Regions from separate parts of the Homo sapiens genome. Here all the other regions are linked to region 1. Evidence: promoter capture Hi-C in 16 types of primary human blood cells and fetal thymus (Javierre and others, 2016). All regions are on one chromosome and are shown on one strand. Each heading gives the region's core, a stretch centred on a gene start or on the middle of the fragment in contact. The rest is flanking DNA. Distances are from core to core; before and after follow the strand shown. Region 1 holds the start of MOGS (mannosyl-oligosaccharide glucosidase). Region 2 overlaps M1AP (meiosis 1 associated protein). Region 3 overlaps M1AP (meiosis 1 associated protein).

Region 1 (5,148 bases), core at 1,224-3,723:
GGGGGGCCCCTGGGGGCCGATGCTGAAACCAGCTATTTAGGCGACTCTTTACCATCTCTGTCAGCAGGGGCAGTCCTGGGTTGGAGGTCCAGAAGACATTGTAGCTTGAAGGGGAGAAGATAAATAGGAAATATTATTCAAGAGAAGGCAGTGGGCATTATAAAGAGAAATACAAAGTGTTCAGGAGTCAGGTTGGGAGGTCTCAGGCAGGGGACATGGAGACTGGTGAAAATGGGAATAACCACCCCTTCCATCCCCCAACATTCTTTTCCCCCAGTTACCTGCCATACTTGGGGGCTGTATCCCCTGGACTGGTTGGTGGCAAAAGTGTAAAGCGGAAGTCACCAAGTTCACTGGTGTGCCCACTGATAAACTTCAACTGCCCCTTGGCCCCAACCTCTGGTAGTAGGACTTCCTTGCCATCTGTCACCACATAGAAGAACAGGGAGACCAAAGGGAGGGCAGAAGTACCTGAGTCCTGAGTGACCAACGAGGACAGAAAAGAACAGTGTTAGATTGGCATTCTCTCTTGAATTCCCTCTTGAGAATCAGCCTTAGTGAGGGAAAGGAACAGTAGGCAGGGGTAATGTAAACAACATACGTCTGGCAGTAATGAGGGTCACTGAGGGTAACCAGGTACACCCAAGCGGGATGAGATAAAGAGCCTTGCACTGGGTGCCCTGGGAGATAACAGTATACTTTTGTACTATGTCCTACACTAAGAACTCTACACAGTTGATTTCATTTAATTCTTTTTTTTTTTTTTTTTTTTTGAGGCGGAGTCTCGCTCTGTCGCCCAGGCTGGAGTGCAGTGGCGCGATCTCAGCTCACTGCAAGCTCCGCCTCCCAGGTTCACGCCATTCTCCTGCCTCAGCCTCCCGAGTAGCTGCGACAATAGGCGCCCGCCACCACGCCCAGCTAATTTTTTGTATTTTTAGTAGAGACCGGGTTTCACCGTGTTAGCCAGGATGGTCTCCATCTCCTGACCTCATGATCCGCCCGCCTCAGCCTCCCAAAGTGCTGGGATTACAGGCGTGAGCCACCGCGCCTGGCTTTTTTTTTTTTCTTGAGATGGAGTTTTGCTCTTGTTGCCCAGGCTGGAGTGCAATGGCACGATCTCGGCTCAGCGCAACCTCCACCTCCCTGGTTCAAGCAATTCTCCTGCCTCAGCCTCCCAAGTAGCTTGGATCACAGGCATGCGCCACCACGCCCGGCTAATTTTATATTTTCAGTAGAGACGGTGTTTCTCCATTTTGGTCAGGCTGGTCTGGAACTCCTGACCTCAGGTGATCCGCCAGCCTCGGCCTCCCAAAGTACTGGGATTACAGGCGTGAGCCACCGCGCCCAGCCTCTTTTTCATTTAATTCTTACAGTCCTGTGAGTTAAGTGCTATTATTATCTACATTGTACATTTTACAAGCAAGGAAATCAAGGCTTAGAGATGGTAAATAGAAATGGTTATACAGGCAGTTGTTTAAGGCAGGATTTAAGCCAGGCAGCCAGAGCCCACTTCATGCTGCATTTGCTGGCAGCAAGGGAAGGATGGAGGGGGTCTGGGCTGAGAAAAGGGTGTCCTGAGGCCCTGACCTGAGGCTCTACAGTCACTCTCCAGCTCCAGTCCCCTCCGTGCTGACCCCCAGGCCTCTTGACGAACTCAGTGGTGAGCCTTAAGGCCCCATCCTGGATGTGTTGGCGCCCGAAGGAGAGGCCGTCGTGGAACTCCCAGCCATAGGGACCCACACCGTCCCCCTGCTCACACGTGTGCCTGAGCTTAGGAGTCCCCGGGGTGGTGCCCTGCTGCGCCCACATCAGTCCTGGGGGTAGAATGGCCACGTAAGTCAAAGAGCAGGGGACCTGTCCCTCCGGGTCTCCGGGTCATCCCTCTTCATAACTCTCCTGATCCATTCCTTCCCACCCTTGCTCTCGCTTCAAGCTGGGGCGCCCAGATTAGGAGTCCGCCTGCCTGCCCGCCCTGGGGCCCGGTTACCGGTGAGGAGGGGCTTCGGGCTGCGGGTCTTCATGCCGAAGTAGACGTGAGGGCGGTAGGTTCCCCAGAAGAGGTCCGGGGCCACGGCGGGGCTGGAGGAGTCGGCAGGCAACACAGGAGGCGCGGAGTGCAGCGTGACCGCCCGCCGCGCACGGTACCACGCCAGCACCCAGCGCCCCGACATACCCAGGGCCAAAGACAGGACCACGACGGCCAGAGCCACTCCTCCAGCCGTGCTACGCGGCCCGCCGCCCCGGCCGTCCCGTCGCCCGGGGCCTCCCCGAGCCGCCCTCTCGGCTGTCCGCACTCCCTCTGCCGGCACTGCGCGGCGCCGCCGCTCGCCCCGAGCCATCCTGGCACTGAGGTCCGCGTCACAAGAGCTCGGAGAGGCGGCAGTGGAGCCCGGGTCCTGCCTCACCTCTCCGGCTCCCGCCTCTCGCCCTGGCGACCACCGTCCGGTTAGCGACACCTGCCAGCCAGCGCCTGCGCCTCCGCCTCCGCCTCCCGCCGGAAGTCCCGCCCCGCCACGTTAGGTTAAGTCCCAGAGTCCGGAACCGCTGCCTGCGGCTTGACACAGGGTTGGTACGTAGCGTCTGTCCTGGGCGTTGGTCCACCGGGATTGCGTTTATCTGGCGACCCCATGGAGTTCACAGGCTCGGAAAAACCAATCTAACGTTGGGCTGAGGCATGAGAATCGTTTGAACCCGGGAGGCGGAGGTTGCAGTGAGCCGAGATTGTGCCACTGCACTCCAGCCTGGGCGACAGAGCGAGACTTCGTCTCAAAAAAAAAAAAAAAAGACTGATGTGGCCAGGCACCGAGGCGCACATCTGTAATCCCAGCACTTTGGGAGGCCGAGGCAGGTGGATCACCAGACATGAGGAGTTGGAGACCAGCCTGGTCAACTTGGTGAAACCCCATCTCTACTAAAAATACAAAAATTAGCCGGGTGTGGTGGTGGGTGCCTGTAATCCCAGCTATTCGGGAGGCTGAGGCAGGAGAATTGCTTGAACCTGGGAGGCGGAGGTTGCAGTGAGCCGATATTGCGCCATTGCACTCCAGCTTGGGCAACAAGAGTGAAACTGTTTCAAAAAAAAAGAAAGAGAGAGAGAGAGAGAGATGGAGGGAGGGAGGGAGGGACGGAGGGAGAGAGAGAGAGAGAGAGAGAGACTGATGCTTTATGCAACACGACCACTTATATTTCACTATAATCTGACTGGTGGCCCCACTCTCCACTAGTGGTAGACTTTTTGCTTATGAAATCATCTGACCAAACCCAATGGTTAGTCCTGTTTTTGTCTTTCTTGCTACCGTTGCATTTGTCGACATCCTTATTGTAGCACTTATTACATACCTGTTTCATTTTTCATCTTTGTATCACAGTACTAATCAATTATAGGCATAAGGCAGATGCTAAATATTTATAAATTCAACACATGTTTATTGTACACCCTATATCGCATTATGCAAGGTGCTGGGGACTCAGAGAAAATGGCCCCAACCTCAAGTTCACAGTCTAGAAGCACAATGCCAGCACTCAATGCATGTTGAACCATACCCATTTTTTTTTTTTTTTTTTTTTTGAGACGGAGTCTCGCTCTGTCACCAGGCTGGAGTGCAATGGCATGATCTCGGCTCACTGCAACCTCTGCCTCCAGGGTTCAAGTGATTCTCCTGCCTCAGCCTCACGAGTAGCTGGGATTACAGGTGCCCACCACCACGCCCAGCTAATTTTTGTATTTTTAGTAGAGATGGAGTTTCACCAGGTTTGCCAGGCTGGTCTCGAACTCCTGACCTCAGGTGATCCACCCACCTCGGCCTCCCAAAGTGCTGGGATTACAGGCGTGAGCCACCGCGCCTGGCCAGACCACCCCCATTTTTACAGATGAGGAGAGTAGTTAAGACTGACCCAAAATAACAGCCAGTTAATTATGGAGCTGGGGAACTCAAATCCAGGTTGTTCTTTTGACTTTAGAATAAGGCCTCTTAGGGCAGGCGCAGTGGCTCAAGCCTGTAGTCCCAGCACTTTGGGAGGCAAAGGCGGGCGGATCACCTGAGGCTGGGAGTTCGAGACCAGCCTGACCGACATGGAGAAACCCCGTCTCTACTAAAAAATACAAAATTATCTGGGCATGGTGGTGCATGCCTGTAATCCCAGCTACTCGTGACACTGAGGCAGGAGAATCACTTGAACCCGGGAGGCAGAGATTGCAGTGAGCCAAGATTGTGCCATTGCACTCCAGCCTGGGCAACAAGAGCGAAACTCTTGTCTCAAAAAAAAAAAAAAAAAAAAAAAAGAATAAATAAGGCCTCTTAGATAACAGCAGTTACTACACTCCCAGCAATGTTTTAGGTACTTTACAGATATTAATTCATTTAATCTCCTTAACAGTCCTATGAGAAAAGTACTATTATTTTCATTTTACAAATGAAATAAGCACTGATAGATTAAATAATTTGTCTAAAGTCATACAGCTACATAAAAACAAAGCTAGGATCTCAACCCCAAGCAGTCTGGCTCATTACAACACTATACTGCCTCCTCCTAGCTTTCTTTTTTAAAGGGGGAGGGGAAAAACGGTCCTTTGAAGATAGCACCCTTTTAGACCGGGAAAAGGTATAGTAATGCTGCTGTAGGAGGGTCGTGGGAAATGTATCTGGCAAAGTACACAGCAGGCCACTGTCTACAGATCTTTTGTTACCTAGCTGAGCATTGTGAAGGTGTCTAAAGCAGTGGCTTTCAACCATTTTCCTACAACTCACAATAAGAAATAATTCCATAGTGCAACCCAGTATGTGCAGATACACATACACACACAACTTATTTAAAACAAGTTACCTAAAAGAATACTTTTAGCTGGGTGTGGTGGCTCACGTCTGTAATCACAGCACTTTAGGAGGCCAAGGCAGGAGAATCACTTGAGTTCAGGAGTTCTAGACCAGCCTGGACAAGATGAGGAGACCCCCCCATCTACAAAAAATTTAAAAATTAGGGTTGGCCGGGTGTGGTGGCTCACGCCTGTAATCCCAGCACCTTGGAAGGCTGAGGCGGTGGATCACCTGAGGTTAGGAGTTCAAGACCAGCCTGGCCAACATGGTGAAACCCCGCCTCTACTAAAAACACAAAAATTAGCTGGGCATGGTGGCACGCGCCTGTAATCCC
Region 2 (5,148 bases), core at 1,447-3,946, 130 kb after region 1:
CACAGTATCTTAGCCTGCCTGGGTTGGTTTACAATTAGCTGTCTACTCTCTGAATACAGGATAGCTATAGGATGTTAACAACCAGGGTAAGTAATCACAGCAGATAAAGCTTAGTCAGGAACAGCAGTGCAGCATCATCCAACCATTGTCTTTAAATCAACACAACATGAGAATAATCTAACAGCTTACAACGGTGAGGCAGTCAAGCTTGTCTTTCTAAGCTCATTTGCCTCATTTGTGGAAGTGATGCTTGGACCCTAGGAAAAAGGAGAAGCCCCTTGAAAAGAGTTGGCAGGGGTGGTGGTAGTGGTTATCAACATGTGAACTCAGGGCAGAGAGGTGACTGCAGGAATGGACCTAGTGGTGACTATCTTCCTGGAGCCCCAGTCTGTAAGAGGGTCAAAACATCACCATAACTGTAATGAGATAGAGAAAATTTATATCCCAGAACTCTTCTCAGAGAGAGAGAACTGTTGTCATTCATTCATTTGCTTAGTCATTCATTTATTTAGTCATTCAAGCACTTATTAGTTTACTGTCTTTTATGAGCTAGGCACTTATTGGTGTCATCAAGAAAAGAGACAAATTGCCTACTTTCGTGGCTTACATTCTAGTGAGAGAACAGATAATAAGCAAGCAAATAAAACAGAATACAATTTCAGATGATAGATACTATGAAGAAAAATAAAGGGGCGTGTGTGTGTGCACGCGCGCGCGTGCATGCATGTGAAGTTTTAGCTTGGCTGGCCAGGGAAGTATTCTTTAAGAAGCTGACAGTTGGGCAGAAACTTGAATGACGTGAAGTGAGTCATAAAAACATTTGTGCGAAGATTGTTTCTTATAGAGAGATGAGCAAGTTCAAAGGTCTTGAGATGGGAATGAGCTTTTTGTGTTGGGGGATTAGCCAGAAGACTAAAGCAGAATAAGGAAGGAAGTGAGGACTAGCTAATAAGCTGCTGGGGTGAAGGACAAGACCCCCAAAGTGGCACACTCATGTATCAACAGGGGTCACTACACTTGCTTTGAAGAAGGGTGGGTTCCATTATTGCAATTTGGTATTGCTCAGGAACTGTGCAAGAGTGGGGCAGAGTAAAGCAAGTTCCTTTTTCTTTCTCTTTTTCTTTGTAGCTCTTAGCTTCTAAACAACTACTGAATTAGCATTTTAAAAATATTTGTTTGAAGGTGTGCCCAAGCTATCAGCTTGTGTAAGGTGCCACATGTCCCAGCCCAGCTTTACCGCTTATGCTTTCCTGTTGTGTGGTGCTGGCAGGCAGTGGGGAAGGAGGGAAGAGGAATCTGGGAGTTCCATGAGCAGAGCTCAAGCAGAGATCCTTCAGCCTGTAGTGGACATGCCTCTTTCCCAGCTCTGGTCAGCTACCCAGGGAATTCTATTGTTAGCAGTTGTCCATTCACCTGCCCTCATCAAGCTAATATAGTCTAAGGCAGGCTGAAAAAAATAATTGACTGTTAACTAAAGAACTAATGGTTCACAATGGATGATTTATATTATGGGTGTCCAATCTTTTGGCTTCCCTGGGCCACATTGGAAGAATTGTCTTGGGCCACACATAAAATGCATCAACACTGATGATAGCTGATGAGCTTAAAAACAAATCTTATAATGTTTTAAGAAAGTTTACGAATTTTTGTTGGGTTGCATTCAAAGCCGTCCTGGGCTGCATGCAGCCTGCGGGAAGCAGGTTGGACAAACTTGATTTACATAATTTCTGACTAGGGAATAGTGGGTTCTATTTGGGCTGCTATCACAAAATACCACAAACCAGTGGCTTATAAGCAACAGAAATATATTTCTCACCGTTTTGGAGGCTGGGAAGTCCAAGATCAAGGTGCTGGCAGATTCAATGTCTGGGGAGGACCTGTTTTTGGTTGATAAATGGCCCCTTCTCACTGTATCCTCATATGGTGGAGGGGGCAGACAAGCTCCTTAGGGAACATTTTATAAAAGCACTAATCCCATTCAGGAGGATTCTGCCCTCCCTCATGACCTAATCCACCATTCAAAGGCCCCACCTCCTAATACTATCTATTTGGTGATTAGATTTCAAAGATGAATTTTAGGGGGGGCGGGGGCGGGATACAACATTCAGACCATAGCAGACTCCCTTAGCTCTAAGATAGGTCCCAAATACTACAATTTCAAATGTAGTATTTCAGCCTTTAGTAAACAGATGAATTGGGTAAGAAAAAGTTTAGAGAGCAATTATTTTGGCTGGGAGAGTAGCCTTTTTATAATCTTTTTCTTAGGCTTGTGTGTTTCTAAGAGGGCAGAAGTGGGGACTGCCCTATGAGAGAAGCTGCACTGCACCCCTCACCTCTGGAGCCACGGAAGTGTTCCCGGATTGCCAATCCCACTTTGAACTGAGTGACTTGCTCTGCCCTAGACAGTCCAGAGAGAAGTTATTGCAGGTACGGGAGAGAAGGGCCCTGGTTAAGGCAGGGTATACCTGCCTCTGGCACCAGTTGTAGCACCTTATCTACCTCTGTACCCACAGCACTAGCGCAGTGTTTACATACAACAGGGGCTCAGTAAACGTTATATTGAACAGAAGAAACTAGCCAGCCTGGTGCTTACTTTCTCTGTGACCTTAGGCCAGTCACTTCATCTCTTTAAGCTCAATTTCTCCATTTGTAAAGTGGGAATGATAGTGATACCTAGGCTAAGGGTTTACTTGAAAATGAAATAATGACACTTGACTCCTGAAAGCAATTTGTGGACTTTAAAGCACCATGCAACTATAAGGGATGATAGAGTATAAAGCCGCCTCCCAGCTGTCTATGTAGTAGATATGAACATTTTATTCACTAAAAGCCAGTGCCATTTCTTTTGCTGAAAATTTTCTCTTCAATAAAGATCTAAGTTGTAAGAAAATATATTTTATCTATGGGTCTCAATGGCTTCATTTTCATTTTATTGGAAAAATGCAGCTTATATGCAAAAGAGATTGATCACTATTGATTGAAATATTCCAAAGTCTGAAGTATTTTTTGACGTGAGAAACATTAGACTTAGAAGGTATTTTAAAAGTCTTCTTTTTCTACAGGGACTAATACATATATTCTATAAACCAAAAAGCATTTAATGTAAATTGCAATGCAAAATTGAAAAGCTGGGAAGAAATATTGTCATAGGCACTGTGGTGGGGGAGGGAGCAGGGGAATGGGTTATTTAGGAGAAGTTTGAATTAAGAAGAAAGCAGAGTTAGGAAGGCGTTAAATCTTTTGACATGACCCAAGAACCACACCAAGCAGTTTTGACTCCTTACACCTAAGGGAACTGAAAGAAAGAGCTGCCTTGAGGTGAAAATAAATGTAAGTGGAGCCATGAAAGAAAAGACTTACTTGGGGGAGCTAAGTAGAGTAAGGAAAAGCTAAAGAAGACGCTCAAATCAAAGAAAGTCCTAAGACATACTCTTTTATTTTTTTGAGACAGAGTCTCACTCTGTCCTCTAGGATGGAGTGCAGTGGTGTGATCTCAACTCACTGCAACCTACATCTCCCAGGTTCAAGTGATTGTCCTGCCTCAGCCTTCTGAGTAGCTGGGATTACAGGCGCCCACCACCACGCCTGGCTAACTTTTTATTTTATTTTATTTTATTTTTTTTCAGTAGAGAAGGGGTTTCACTATGTTGGCCAGGCTGGTCTCGAACTACTGACCTAAGTGATCCACCCACCTCGGCCTCCCAAAGTGCTGGGATTACAGGCATAAGTCACTGAGCCCAGACCTAAGACATATTCTTAAAAAAATCCTAGATAGACTGTATAATAGCTTTGCAACCGACTCTGTGTATATACATGCATTTTTGTAGATCTGGGGGTGTATCTTCAGGGTATTAGATTCCTAGAAGTGGGGCTGGTGACTTCTAGGGATAGAAGTAAAACACATAGGTAATTTTGTGTTTAAAAATAAACACATGCCACTTCTATTGGTGTCATACTTTTTAACTTTTGCCAATCTAATAATAGGTAGGAAATAATATTTTGGTATAGTCTTAATTATCATTTCTCTAATTATGGGTGAGGTTGAACATATTTTCACATGTTTAAGGACCATTTAAAAATCTTTTTTTGAATTATGTGTTTATGACTTTTTTCCATTTTTCTCTAGTGTTTTTGGTCTTTTTCTTACTCCTCAGTTTTAAAGTGTTCTTTATATATTAGAGATATTAGTCTTTTTTTTCTCCCATGGCATAAATTGCAAATACTTTCTCCTGGTTTTTCAGTTGTCTTTTGACATTGTTTATGGTACTTTTTGCCATGCCAAAGATTTTTATTTTCATATAGTTAAATAAATAAATCTTTCTTTATTGTACCTGGATTTTGAGTCATAGTTAGATGACCTTTATCTATGCTGAGATTGTAAAGAAATTCACCAATGTTTTCTTTTAATACTTTTAATATTATTATTTACATTTGGATCCCTGGTCCATTTGGAATCTTTTCCAGATGGCTAAACCAGTTGTCCCAGCATTACTTTTTGAGCAAGTTCATCTTTGCCTTAGTGATTTGAGATGTCTCCTTTATCCTATGCTAAATTAATATCTATATTCGTGCCTATTTCTGGACCTTGAATATGTATATAGCTGTGTCCCAATCAATTCTTGCACTGTACTAACTAATGCTCTAGTGCTGGGTATATGATGGGGCTGATTTCAGATAGAAAGTGGCCAGATTGTCCCCAGATTGGGTAGTGGCAACACAAGTCATTTGCCAAGTAAAGCAGTGCTGTCAAACGTGTTAGGGGATGGGGAATGAGGAGAGAAAAGGTGAGATTTAATCAGAAGAACTTCTTTTAAGCAAAAATCTCCTAAAGAGAGAGAGTGAGAGATATGATGGAGAACGTGAGCTTATTGAGCTGAAGAGAAGGCAGAAAAGGAGGTAAAAAGAAAGAACCAAATTGAAAAAGAGTAAATAAGGGAATTCCAGTCTGGTTAGGTTCCAGTACCCAACAAACTGATTTTCTTGTAAAAAACAGCTATAAACTCTGAACAATATTTTATTCATTTATTTATTTATTTTTTGAGACAGAGTCTCATTCTGTCACTCAGGCTGGAGTACAGTGGTGCAATCTTGGCTCAGTGCAACTTCTACCTTCCAGACTCAAGTGATTTTCATGCCTCAGCCTCCTGA
Region 3 (5,148 bases), core at 785-3,284, 110 kb after region 1:
GGCATACAGTGGTGAGTAAATATTTGATAAATAAATAGACAGATAGATAAATACAGATCCTCAAACCCTGAGTTTAGTGGCAGGGAGACTCTAATCTCGTGTATGTAAGCCAGGATGGAAGGGAATACTTTTTCCCATCCTTATTATTACTATTTTTTTTTTGAGACAGAGTCTCACACTGTTGCCCAGGCTGGAGTGCAGTGGCACGATTTCGGCTCACTGCAACCTCCGCCTCCCAGGTTCAAGCGATTCTCCTGCCTCAGCCTCCCAAGTAGCTGGGATTACAGGCATCTGCCACCACGCCCAGCTAATTTTTTATTTTATTTTATTTTTAGTAGAGACAGGGCTTCATCATGTTGGCCAGGCTGGTCTCGAACACCTGACCTTGTGATCCACTCACTTCGGCCTCCCAAAGTGCTGGAATTACAGGTATGAGCCACCGTGCCCAGCCTATTATAACTATTTTTTGAGACAGGGTCTTGCTCTGTCGCCCAGGCTGGAGTGCAGTGGTGCGATCTTGGCTCACTGCAACCTCTGCCTCCCGGGTTCAAGTGATTCTCATGTCTCGGCCTCCTGAGTAGCTGGGATTAGAGGTGCGTGCCACTATGCCTGGCTAATTTTTGTATTTTTAGTAGCTGTGGGATTTCACCATGTTGGCCAGGCTGGTCTTGAACTCCTGGCCTCAAGTGATCCACCTGCCTTGGGCTCCCAAAGTGCTGGGATTACAGACGTGAGTCACCACACCAGGTTATAGTTCCTATAACTTTTCCCCTACTTAGGACATTTGAGTTGTTTCTAATTTTTCACCACTGTAAATAACACCGAGATGAACATGCTGGTACATATATCTTCATCCCTTTCCTGACTGTCTTCTTTGGCTACATTCCCAGCAAAAGGAAAGGGTATCATTTTCCGGAAAATTTACATCCTCTCTAGCAGTGTATTAAAATGTCAATGTATGTTTAAAATATCAAATACTGTAAGAATGTATTGAAGCCACCTGGGAGAAATTCCTCCCATGTGATGTATCATCTCAGATTCTGAGGAACTGGGTGGAGTAAATAGTAAACTGAGCTGTTGGGCACTAACAGTTACAACGGCTCCGTTGTCTCTGCTCTGCAAAGACAGGAGATGGGTGTTCTTCAGACAGGAAACAGGAACTCAGTGGGTGGACCTAAAAGGGAGTGCGGGCTTCGAAACAGGAAAAAAAGAAGTCTGCTTCTGATAGTGAAAGAGATGCATTGCTGTGCTGTCCTGATCATCCTACTAAGTCAAACCTTTATTCTATATCTGTCCTTGCATTCTATTTGCAGTTGTTTTAATTTTGCTAAGTGTTGTGTTAGTTTCATGTGACTGCTTTTATTTTTTCCATTTCAGGGAATGACATCCATCTAGTTGTTCAAGTCAGAAACCATGCAGTTATTTGATACTTCCTCTTTCTCACTCCCTATATCCAATCTCTCAACCAAGTTCTGACAATCTTCTCTCTAAAATATTTCTACACTTGGTCATAGCTAAAAGGCCAAGAAGCGATTCTAAAATATTTCTCTAATTGGTTTGCTCATCTCATCTTGACTTCCAATGTTCTAGTTCAAACCACCACGGTCTCTTGACTAGTCTACTGCAATACCCTCCTAGCTCATTTTCATGTTTCCATTTTTGCTTCTGCGAGTTCATTTCCAAATTTCTGCCCAAGTAATATTTTAAAAACTGAAATAGATAATGTTATTTCTCATGATTTGTTTCCCTAAGTCCAAATCCTTAATTTGGCCTACAAAGCTTTGCATGATTTGACCCCTGCTCACCTCTCCAACCCTACCTTTTGTCACTCTCTCCCTTCCTCCCTGTTTCAGTCACAATGGCTTTTCTGTTCTTGATTTTTCTCTCAGCTCTTTCCAGCCTTAGGGTCTTTGCACATGCCTTTCCTTACACCTGGAATGCTCTGCCTGCCACCCTTCACCTGGTTAATTCTCACTTATCTTGTAGGTCTTAGTTTAAATGTCACTTCTATAGACAGGCTTTCTTATAGCAGCTTTTTCTTTTCCTTTATAAACTTCTCATAATTAAGAATATATACATTTCTGTTTCTTCCATTGGAGAGTGGGTTTCTTAAGGTCATAGGTAATGTCTTTTAGGTCACTACAGAATATATATCTAGGGCTTGACACAATGTCTGGCATAGACTAAATGCTCTTCATTTAAATGAACCATAACGTCTATCAGTGTTAGGAAGGAAGTAGGTTTTAAAATACAGGTACGTACGGAAAATTCCCTGTTGCCATTTAAATGTTAAGCTTGCCAATCGGGGATTTTCAAGTTTAGTGTTGTATAACTGAATTCAGGAATTATTCTCTATAGCATGAAACCAACAAAAGGCAAGTCATATTTACTCCAAATTTCAGAGTATTTCCAGTTTTTTCTGTCTTCTTGAGGGTTGAGGCAGATTTAGGATTGGGCAGAGTTAGTTAGCTGCTTTTCTGTGGTTGGTACTTTAAAAACGATTCTTCTTTTTCACCTGGGGACATGGGTACTCACCAGCAGGCTGTGACACAAAGCATGGAAATGTTGCTGATTTGTCTCCAGCTCATCCCAGTCCAGCTGCCAACAGCTTGTAGGTCTGAGGATGAACGGGAGTCCATATGTCAATGACTCGCAGAGCCCGCTAGATTTTAAAGCCCTAGGAAGAGATAATTACAGTCAAAGACTCCTTAGTGATATCTAGAACCTCCACCTAGATCCACTTCAATTCAGCTTAACTCTAAGACAGTACTGTGAAAGCTTTTAAATTAGTGTCTGTGAACTATGCATCTTTGTATGGCCAGCATCTAGCATAGTATCTAGCACACAGAAGATTGTCAAAGTTCAGGAACCTGTGCATGGGCACAGTGGTAGGAACTGGGAAGAGTTGAAGCAGACTCTGCCATTATTGCTAATTCATTGTGTTTTTTTGTTTTGTTTTGTTTTTCTTTCAAGATAAGGGCTTGCTCTGTTACCTAGGCTGGAGTGCAGTGGTTCAATTAACTCACTGCAGCCTTGAACTCTTGGGCTCAAGCGATCCTCCTGCCTCAGCTTCCCAGAGTGGCTGGGATTACAGGCATGAGCCACCGTGCCTAGTCTGCTAATTCTATCCTACAATTGGTTCTCCTGGAAGAAGGAATTCTAGTACTTAGAGAAATGGGAGGGGGCAGGGGTAGATCCTATGTACCACTTACTCCTTGAAGGTTGGATCTCTGTCTTGATGCCTAAACAAAGTAGCTATTCAATAAACATTTACTAAATGGATAAACACCTTTTTAATGAGTCAAAAGAAAAACAATCCTCATGCAGACCTCAGAGTGTTCTACTGCAGCGCTTCTCCCACCATCTGCACATTTGGCCTCCACATGCTGAGTAGCCTGTCTTTGCTTCCTCATGCCATAGCTGTAACTGCTACTTCGGAACTGACTCTTGCCTGCCTGACACTTAAGAGATACCATCTATCTCTGGAGTTCCTAGCCACAGAACCACTAAGAATAGCATTTGCATGGATTGGGGAGGTTCCCTTGGACCATACTTGATCACTTGGAGCTTGTAATGAGAGGCCGATGACTGGGAAGCCATCTGGTAGAGTGTGATGAAGTCTCCTTTAGGGTCATCCATTCTCAAGGAGCCGTCAGCTGTGCCAGCGAGTAGGGATGGGCAGAGCAGTCGCTCTTGGAGATCACATTTCAGACACACTACAATAAAAGGAGATTACATTTCAGACACACTACAATTGGAGGAAGGATTGTGGGTAATAAGTTACCTTAGGCTATGCCATTAAGAGACAACATCTGCTACCCATTCCATCTCTACCAGGCAAGCAAGGGATAGGAGGAGGCAGGAGAGTGGAAAGAGGAAAGCCTGACTGGTTTGGAAAGGGAGAACAGGTCTGGAAGCTATAGTATCTCTATCGCTCTACATAAAAGTTAACTTATCTTCAAGAGTCTGACATGATCTTTACTTGTTTTACTTCTGGGCTGGCTGAGCAGTTGTCTCATAGTGAGACATCTGGCTTGTGATCCAGTCTGAGGAACATGTATCCTCTGTGGAGGAGGTAGCTAATGCCAAAATATGCAGAGGCCCTTTGGCAATCACAGAAGGAAATCTTGCTTCTGCTGCTTCCTTGTGGCTAAGCTTTGGCAACAGTGCAGGTCAGATGAAGGAAGAGCAGTAAAGCAGAAGTCAGGCAGTCAGATGACTGCTACTGTTTCTCTGTGGGCTCGTTCAGGGACATTCAGAGTGGGGGGAAAGGAATAAGTTCCTGAAATAGCTTATTTTTTAATTCCCCAAAGAAACATGAATTTAGGACCTTCTGGGCCTTGGAGCATCACAGTGGCATCAGACAACAGTTCTGAGGAATGCTTAGGCTAGGTAGGAGTTACTCATCTAGGTATTTTACTCTTCTGCATTAAGCTTCTGCTCCAGTAGGTAACTGCATATGCCATAGTGTATGATGATCTGTTACACAAGCTTAAATCCTTGATATTACAAAGTTCTTCAATAAAACGTATACCTGGCTTGAATAGTGATAACAAACTTGTGAATATACAAATGTTGAGTACTTCTGAGAAGGCTGGTAGTTGATGCTAGTGACTTGTGAAATGACTGTACTAACTGCAATATGAGGTAAAAAACAACATAGAAAAAAATAGAGTGGCAGAACAGATGTTAGATCCAGCTGGCCCTCCTGGGCCCTGTGAATAAGACCTAGACATTAGGTCTTATCACATTAGACATTGTGAATAAGACATTCATTCTGGGTGAGACGGCCCTCAGCCTGACATGTCCCAGAGCACAGGAAGTCAGTAGGAGGGACTTTGCCTAGGACTCCAGCTTCCTCTTATTTCCTCTGTGCCTGACTTCTCCATTTCCGGTCCTGAGGCTTTAGGACTGGACAGCTGTGTTCATCTGGCAGAGGTTTTCAATTCTGGTTGCAGTAAGAATCATCTAGGGCAGCAATCCTCAATCATTTTGGCATTAGCGACTGGTTTCATAAAAGACAATTTTTCCATGGGGTGGTGGGGGATGGTACTGTTCCACCTCAGATCATCAGGCATTAGTTAGATTCTCATAAGGAGTGCACAACCTAGATCCCTTGCATGTGTAGTTCACAATAGGGTTTGGGCT

What was found. The method cuts DNA at HindIII sites, captures the fragments that hold promoters and counts their contacts. A CHiCAGO score of 5 or more calls a contact.
Region 2: a fragment that was not itself captured here is called in contact with the fragment with the promoter of MOGS in region 1 in 14 of 17 cell types (neutrophils, total B cells, naive B cells and 11 more); the score reaches 10.5 in neutrophils.
Region 3: a fragment that was not itself captured here is called in contact with the fragment with the promoter of MOGS in region 1 in 9 of 17 cell types (total B cells, erythroblasts, naive B cells and 6 more); the score reaches 8.0 in total B cells.

Annotation. Positions count from the first base shown.
Region 1 is chr2:74,462,909-74,468,056 of GRCh38, forward strand. It overlaps MOGS (mannosyl-oligosaccharide glucosidase), which reads right to left and starts at 2,474. Exons shown (of 4, transcript NM_006302.3): 1 at 1,988-2,474; 2 at 1,588-1,814; 3 at 282-478; 4 at 1-104. The coding sequence starts at 2,339. RefSeq lists silencers at 2,041-2,260, 4,454-4,748. The HindIII fragment of the contact is 14,256 bases long and covers 1-5,148 here.
Region 2 is chr2:74,588,360-74,593,507 of GRCh38, forward strand. All of the region lies in intron 4 of M1AP (meiosis 1 associated protein), which reads right to left. Among named protein-coding and RNA genes, the nearest start is that of DOK1, 36 kb to the left of the region's middle. The HindIII fragment of the contact is 4,982 bases long and covers 206-5,148 here.
Region 3 is chr2:74,572,903-74,578,050 of GRCh38, forward strand. M1AP (meiosis 1 associated protein) reads right to left here. Exons shown (of 11, transcript NM_001321739.2): 6 at 3,554-3,716; 7 at 2,536-2,677. Among named protein-coding and RNA genes, the nearest start is that of DOK1, 21 kb to the left of the region's middle. RefSeq lists an enhancer at 4,583-4,762. The HindIII fragment of the contact is 515 bases long and covers 1,778-2,292 here.